Regions from separate parts of the Homo sapiens genome. Here region 2 is linked to region 1. Evidence: promoter capture Hi-C in 16 types of primary human blood cells and fetal thymus (Javierre and others, 2016). All regions are on one chromosome and are shown on one strand. Each heading gives the region's core, a stretch centred on a gene start or on the middle of the fragment in contact. The rest is flanking DNA. Distances are from core to core; before and after follow the strand shown.

Evidence for each region. Contacts are between HindIII fragments. The CHiCAGO score rates a contact against its expected background, and 5 or more counts as called.
Region 2: a contact is called between a fragment that was not itself captured here and the fragment with the promoter of EDN1 in region 1, in 4 of 17 cell types (endothelial precursors, M2 macrophages, M0 macrophages and 1 more). The highest score is 8.4, in endothelial precursors.

Annotation. Positions count from the first base shown.
Region 1 is chr6:12,288,468-12,292,521 of GRCh38, forward strand. EDN1 (endothelin 1) reads left to right here and starts at 1,894. Exons shown (of 5, transcript NM_001955.5): 1 at 1,894-2,226; 2 at 3,874-4,042. The coding sequence starts at 2,163. RefSeq lists enhancers at 1-2, 3-503, 1,647-1,746, 1,757-1,826. The HindIII fragment of the contact is 4,555 bases long and covers 1-3,495 here.
Region 2 is chr6:12,011,809-12,015,565 of GRCh38, forward strand. It overlaps HIVEP1 (HIVEP zinc finger 1), which reads left to right and starts at 504. Exons shown (of 9, transcript NM_002114.4): 1 at 504-758; 2 at 3,718-3,757. RefSeq lists silencers at 1-338, 519-658. The HindIII fragment of the contact is 885 bases long and covers 1,825-2,709 here.

The sequences.
Region 1 (4,054 bases), core at 644-3,143:
CCTCCCTGGGCCCCGGGGCTAGGCTGAGGTAAGCGCACAGCGGAGGCCAGGGGCCCCGGCAGAGGCCCTGGGGATAGGGTGGAGGCATCTCTGGGTGTGGGTGTGGGTGTGGGTGTGGGAGGGAGAGTTCTTGCCTCTCTCTCTCCCATCTCCAACTCTTGCTTCAGTGGCTCTTTTAGAGGATGCATGTCATTATGGACCTGTCGCTGCCACTGTCCCTGTTCCCCCAGCTGTGACTTCGAGGGAGGTCTGGGGATCTGAGTCTGTCCAAACCCACGGCTTTGCTGTTGGGATAAAAACTGTCCTTTTGATTTTAGAAGGAGGAGGGAAAAAAGGTTTCCCAGCATGTGTGTTGTGCCAGTCTTGGAAATTCATCCGTGCTTGAATTCCACCCTCCATCCCCAGAAAAACTGGAGTAAAACAAAAAGAGGAGATGGACAAAGTGTGTATTTGATGGCATCCCCTGGGAAGAGACTCTAAATTTATCCCATAGGTCTTACTGGGCCACTGTGAGCGCTTTGGTGGAGAACAAACAAAAATTCTGGGTGCTCAGTTGTCTAACCTGAAAAATGGGACTAGCGGAAAAAGCCAATGTGTTCCATGCACCTTTTGCTTTCTTTATTAAGGCATGATGTCACCTGTACAGTAACTGCCCTGTGTGTACTTCAGGGGGGGATTTCAAGGTTAGATAGACAGGAAATTGTTTTGAAAATGTAAACACATTATTAAATGTGAAGTATTATCTGATTCCTTGTTCGAATGGCATTTCCTTCTCAGCACCACCTTCCTTGCATATTCACTTAACCTTGTACAAGAACACCTTTTTGCCCTAAATGAAGACACCCCCCCAAAAAAAAGAGTCCCAGAAAATATGTCCCTGCTTGTGCGGGGAATAAATAGAATATTCTGAGGTGCATTCCTCCTTCCTATGTTAGGCAACATTCCTTGACCCTCCTCGGCCCCCAAGCCAGGTTGCGTTTTTTTCTGCCATTTAGAAGGGTTTTCCTTTTTGTCCTAGTAAAACATCAGCCCCTGTAGCTCTTCATCTCCCCCTGGTGTTCTTCTCCCGCCATGTCTTAAGATTGGTGGCACCGACCAATCTTAAGATTTAAGTTCTGTGTGAAAAACACCTTTGCTTTTCAATCAGTTTATCAGCCTCCTCCGCAGGGGAAGTGTGGACACACAAAAGAACTTATCGGGGCTTCTCATCAGTGATAGGGAAAAGACTGGGCATGTGCCTAAACGAGCTCTGATGTTATTTTTAAGCTCCCTTTCTTGCCAATCCCTCACGGATCTTTCTCCGATAGATGCAAAGAACTTCAGCAAAAAAGACCCGCAGGAAGGGGCTTGAAGAGAAAAGTACGTTGATCTGCCAAAATAGTCTGACCCCCAGTAGTGGGGCAGTGACGAGGGAGAGCATTCCCTTGTTTGACTGAGACTAGAATCGGAGAGACATAAAAGGAAAATGAAGCGAGCAACAATTAAAAAAAATTCCCCGCACACAACAATACAATCTATTTAAACTGTGGCTCATACTTTTCATACCAATGGTATGACTTTTTTTCTGGAGTCCCCTCTTCTGATTCTTGAACTCCGGGGCTGGCAGCTTGCAAAGGGGAAGCGGACTCCAGCACTGCACGGGCAGGTTTAGCAAAGGTCTCTAATGGGTATTTTCTTTTTCTTAGCCCTGCCCCCGAATTGTCAGACGGCGGGCGTCTGCCTCTGAAGTTAGCAGTGATTTCCTTTCGGGCCTGGCCTTATCTCCGGCTGCACGTTGCCTGTTGGTGACTAATAACACAATAACATTGTCTGGGGCTGGAATAAAGTCGGAGCTGTTTACCCCCACTCTAATAGGGGTTCAATATAAAAAGCCGGCAGAGAGCTGTCCAAGTCAGACGCGCCTCTGCATCTGCGCCAGGCGAACGGGTCCTGCGCCTCCTGCAGTCCCAGCTCTCCACCGCCGCGTGCGCCTGCAGACGCTCCGCTCGCTGCCTTCTCTCCTGGCAGGCGCTGCCTTTTCTCCCCGTTAAAAGGGCACTTGGGCTGAAGGATCGCTTTGAGATCTGAGGAACCCGCAGCGCTTTGAGGGACCTGAAGCTGTTTTTCTTCGTTTTCCTTTGGGTTCAGTTTGAACGGGAGGTTTTTGATCCCTTTTTTTCAGAATGGATTATTTGCTCATGATTTTCTCTCTGCTGTTTGTGGCTTGCCAAGGAGCTCCAGAAACAGGTAGGCACGCTCGTTGACTTGTAAGTCTCGGAATTACAAGTTAGTGTGTTCTTATCCACCTTCATGCTTTTCTTGCTTCTATTTTTCCCCGTTCTTTTTATGACTGCAGCTTAGAGAGCAAGTGTCTGAGAATTATTGCTGAAAGCTACTTTAAGTCTTCTAGTGTAAAATGTAAAATTCCTCTATTGAATACAATTAGGTGCAATTGACTATAACATGACATTAAAATAACTTATCGTTTTATTATTATTATTCCATTATGTGTTTCCTTGGCTTTTAAAAAATGAGAAGAGTATGGACATATACAATTTAGTCAAATGTATGTTTGTAATATATGTGTTTATACAGGTACACAGGCCATATAGGAACTTAAATCTTATTTAAACACTATTTTAATAGTGTGTTAACGTGTAAAATATTTAAGCATTCCAGCTTGAAGCCAAGGAATTGTATCCAGTCGTTCAAGCAATGTATGTTCAGTAAAATCACCTGCAGAGCAAAAGTCTGTTGACTAACTACCGCCTCCCCCCCCCCCCGCCACCACCCCCCGCAGGCGGTTTCTGGGTGAAGCAGATGTTTTCTTTAAAATTTGTCATCATTGACTTTAGGTTTCTTTTGGCAGGTTTTTGGCACCCAAAACAGTGTGAGCTCTCTTTTCAGCTTTATTCACCTGTGCTGGGAGGGGAGCTAGGATAATTCTTGGCTGCCGAAGGATTTAGGCAGTGCGTGTGCATCTGCCCGGGTCCCCCCCGTTTTTAGGGTCAGTGCACTTTTTTTGTCTTTTCGTGACCCTGACTAAAGAGAAAGGATGTCAAGGGAATGAAAATCCTGGAATGTGTCTGATCATTTGAAATGTACAAAATTGGGCAGATAAGCTGCATGGCTAAATTGTTAGGAGGAAGAGGCAAGGCAGTAGTGGAGAAGGGGGAGGCAGTGGATCCCACACAAGCCTGATGCCCAGGGATTCGGAATTCAAAATCCCCCCAGCCTACCTTCAGTCCCCTGACCTGCTTCTCAGCCCCACCTTAGGTCACTGGTTTCTATGGAGTTACCCTCCTGAATTGAATATTGAATAGTTAATTTCTCTCTCCAATCATTTTCCCCACCTAATTTTGAAAGATATACATCATCTGGGGTACCCTGTGCCCTACACAGCATGTGAAGTGGATGGGTACCCCCTAAAGAGAGGGTCATCCTGAATGGGGAAGTGGCCCCAAAGCTAGGAATAACTGTGATTTCTTGTCTTTAGTCATGTGCCAATGTTAAGTAAGCTTCAGTGGATAGTGCTGTCCTACCAAGTTCCTTGTAGAAGCCAGCCGGATTTTCAACAGGCAGCATTCCACAGCATTTCCCTGAGCCTGCTTCAAGAGGGGTGGGGGAAGTCCCTTTTCAGGTGTTTATCTCCTCTGCATTTGTGTAATCTCCCTGAAGGTGGATAAGCCAAGGGCATGAGGGGGAGGCAAAAGGTGAACTCATGTTAAGGAGGGAAAAAAATAAAGAGCCCTTTTTTCTGTGTTTCTTGCTGATGGCAGGCTGTGTGCTTCATCTGCTTTTATCTGCTCTGCTAGCTCTGACTCTACTGTGATCCAGCATGTCTCTCGGCGTTTGAGGAGACATCCCCCACTGACCTGCTCTTTCTCTCCCCAGCAGTCTTAGGCGCTGAGCTCAGCGCGGTGGGTGAGAACGGCGGGGAGAAACCCACTCCCAGTCCACCCTGGCGGCTCCGCCGGTCCAAGCGCTGCTCCTGCTCGTCCCTGATGGATAAAGAGTGTGTCTACTTCTGCCACCTGGACATCATTTGGGTCAACACTCCCGAGTAAGTCTCTAG
Region 2 (3,757 bases), core at 1,017-3,516, 280 kb before region 1:
GGCGCCTGGGCGTCCCGCGCCCCTCGCCCCGGCCTCAACCCCAGCCCCCGCGGGGACGCCCCCTCCCCCGCCCACGCGTCGCCGCCCGCGGCCTCCCCTCCTCCCGCCCCCGGGGATCCCCTGCCGCCCCGCCCACCCGCGGGAAAGCCTCCGACCTTCGCCCTGCCTCCCCCGCGCCGCCCGGCCCGCGTTCCTCCCGCCGGCCCCAAAGACGCTAAACGTGCCCTACTCTGCCCCGGGGGAGAGGTAAAGCCCGCGCCCGTCCTTCCCGCCCCGGGCCCCGCGGCCCCAGGGTCTGTCCGCCCGCCCCGCCGCGGCGCGCGCCCCCCAGCCCGGCTGCCCGGCTCCCTGGCGGCCGCGATCATGCCGTGGCTCCGGGCGCCGGCGAGCTTCGCCGCCTCCTCCGCCCGGCGGCTGCGGCCCCCGCCCGCGCGCCCCGCGCTCCCCCCCCCGCCCCCCGGCCCGCTCCCCTGTTTAATATTTCAGTGCTGGGTGGTGTGAGCGCCAGTCGCCGGCCTTCAGCGTGGCGGCTGCTGGGCGGCGGCAGGGTGGCGGACGGAGCGGGGGACCGGGGAGCGGCGGCCGCCGGAGGAGGTTATGTTTGTGTTTGGGGTTGTCAAGTGAAGGAGGGATCCCAGGCGCCGCCGCCGCCGCCGCGCGGGGGTCGCGGAGATCCCGAGCCGCGGCCGCCGCCATCAGCAGCGCAGCTCCAGGGCCGGCTGCAGCGGCAGCGGCTCCGCCGGGCGTCCTGGCAGCAGGTTCGGCGCGGGCTCCGCGGCGGGGGCGCTGCAGCTGGGGAGGGCGGCGGGGCGGAGGGGGGGGGGGGCAGGAGCACATCCCTTCGGCGGGCGGGGGGCGTGCGGGCGCGCGTGTGTGTGTGTGTGTGCGTGTGTGTGCAACCGCCGACCTTGCAGAGGGGATGGCTGCGTGCGGGAGACCCTTGGCACTTCTGGGCGCCCTCGCCGCGCGCGAGCCGAGCAGGTACAGAGGGACCCAGCCTCCCCAGCCGCCTTCCAGCCGCAGACGCATTTTGCAAGAGGGTGGGGGGTGAAAGAGACCAGGCCTCGGCATCCCAACCTCCCGGCTTTGTGGGTTTCTTTCCCTTTCGTTCTTTGCTCTAAGTGCCTGTTTACTCCCGGCCACCTGGGTAGTTTCTTTCCGGGTTGGGAGTGCGCGCCAGCTGCAGTTGGGAAGGGGGCGGTGGGTTGGGGTGCGGGTCGGCTCGGGCTCGCCTTGGGGTCGGGCTCGGGAAGGAGTTGCTGGCTGGAGAGGGGAGGGGGCGGCGGCGGAGCAGGCGGCGAGGAGGAGTCTCAGGGCTGCCGCGCTCGCCTCATCTCGTCCTCCTCCTCCTCAGCTCTCTGCATCCACTCCAGGCTCCTTCCTGAGCTGGCACTTCCATTCCCCCCCTCCTCCTGGCATGCGAAGCGCTTTGTTCAGTGCAGCGTTGCAGAGGGGTTTTCCCAGGCTCCGCCCTCCACATTCATTCATGTTTTTTCTCCTTGCAACTGTCTTTACGCTTTTTGATCGTGTCATGTTTTTGCTCCATGTAGTATTTATTTCTTTCCCGTAAAGGAACGGTTTATCACTCGTCCTAGTCGCTACAATGCTGCTGTCTTTGGAAATACCCACTTCCCCCCACAAGGATTTAAATATGGGATGGACAGCTAGGGACAGTGGGTAGGCAATGAACGGGGTAGCAGAAAGCCTTTACGGACAGGGAATGTGCATATTTTACATTTATGCTCCGGATCCCATGGGATCACATGATTGGATTACAGTCAGAGTTCACGCTTTAAAAACTTCCAAATATCGTTACCATTTAAAAGCTTTAAGTTTAACAACGAACGTAGTTAAGCATTCATGCAATTTATTTGGTTCAGCTGTGTCTCAATTCTTTATTGAATCAGAACCTTCCTGAATTAGATAGTGGATGTTTCTTTAGAGCAAGGAGCTGAGAAACCCTATCTTTTATAGATCACTTAGCACAATGCTAGATGAAATACTTAGACCATCATTTTTTTTTGTATTATTTTACCATGTAGTTAAAAATTGCAAATAATTTTGTGCTGAGCTGACATACAGCCAGATCAGGGATAAAATACTGAAGTTAATCGTGGCCTTCTTTACCTTCTGTTTCTTTGCTGTAATGAAACCATAAATTTCTAAAACCTTATACTGGGATGTTAGACACATTCCTTCCCATATAGGCTTTCTTAAGGAGAATTAATAGTTCAGCGTTTTTGTGTGACAGGCAAAGCGTCTACAATGTTTAGTTTAGTCCTTATAACAACCTTCTGATGTGGATAATATTTCCTAATTTTACAGTTGGGAAATCTGATCTTCAGAGAGGTTAAGTAACCTGAACAAGGCCACACAGTAAGGGGTAAAGCCTGGCTTTGAACCCACTCCGGTTTGACACCAAGATAAGTCGTCATGACTTGCTGCGCCTCTTGAAAGAAATCCTGAAAGTAGATGTTATCAGCTCCACAAAATAAGCACTGGATATAACTGAGTCATGCAGTACCACATTCTTTAGTTGTTTATCTTGGACAAGTTACTTATCCAATTTTTTTTTAATCTGTAAAATGAATAAATGATAGCTACCTTCTTAGTTAACAGATTAAATTAGGGAATGTGTAGAAAGTACACAGGCACATAGTAGGTGCTCATAAGTGTTCTCTTGTCTTCTACAGTACCACTAATAACAAAAGCTTTAAGCCTTCCTTACTGTTCTATTCTTGTGTCTTTGCTTAATGACTAAACATTGTTTCATGTTTAACAGTGACAGTGGGCTTTGCTTCTCAGTTTTCTTGCAGTAAGTTAAAATTTCAGCTTTAAGATCCTTGAGAATCTTGTGGAAGAGCCTGAGGTGGCTGATTTGGGGAGATAGGTGATTCGGTTTTGGGTCATTCTTATCTTGGCCTATTATATTTCAGATCACTGTGTTTTAAAATCTGTAAGTCAGGACAGGCTAGGTTGTGCTGCAGTAACAAATAACTCTCAAACCTCACTTATTTAAGCAAACAAAAAGGTGTTTCTGGCGTATGCTGTGTGATCACGTGGGTTAGCCAGAGCTGACTTTGTGGTGGTGTCAGATTTGCTGTCTGGAGCAGTGCTGATCCCATGGCAGAGAGAGAAGAGCTCTGGAGGATCATGCTGTGGTAATAACTAAATGCTCCAGCCTGGAAGTGAAGTCTCATCCGCTCACAGGTCGTTAGCTACAGCTCCTCACACGTTCCTGGGAAACACAGGGAAGCAGAAAGTGTGGTCCTACCATGAACCTAGAGGTCTGGAATAACTGGAGTAGCCACAGTAGCAACCCCTTGTATTAACTGAGTTAACTCTAAAACAAGATGAACAAGACATTGTCCCTGCCCCTATGAATGGGCAGATTTACTATACATGCCTAACATAATCCTTTTGTAGCCTGATGCGATACTTTACTTGTTCCTGGTATTGTTGTTTTAAAACACAAAGTGAGTTTTTTTACTCTTGTCTGATAAAGATACGGTGTTTTTTTTCTGTTTTCTTAATGAGAAGTCCCGATACTGACAAAATGACCTCTGTTTAATTAAAAGTTAGTAATCTTTTGCAGTGGTGCCCAGCTTGGTTACTTTTTCTTGAGTTTAGGTTAGTGCTCTGCTAGGCAGTAACTTTTAAAGTATCTTTCTCCTCTGAAGGTAGTAAAATGTGCTTCTCCGTTTTTTTCTTTTTCAGCACATGGATTAATTGATGTATGTTGAGTTTATGGAGCTGC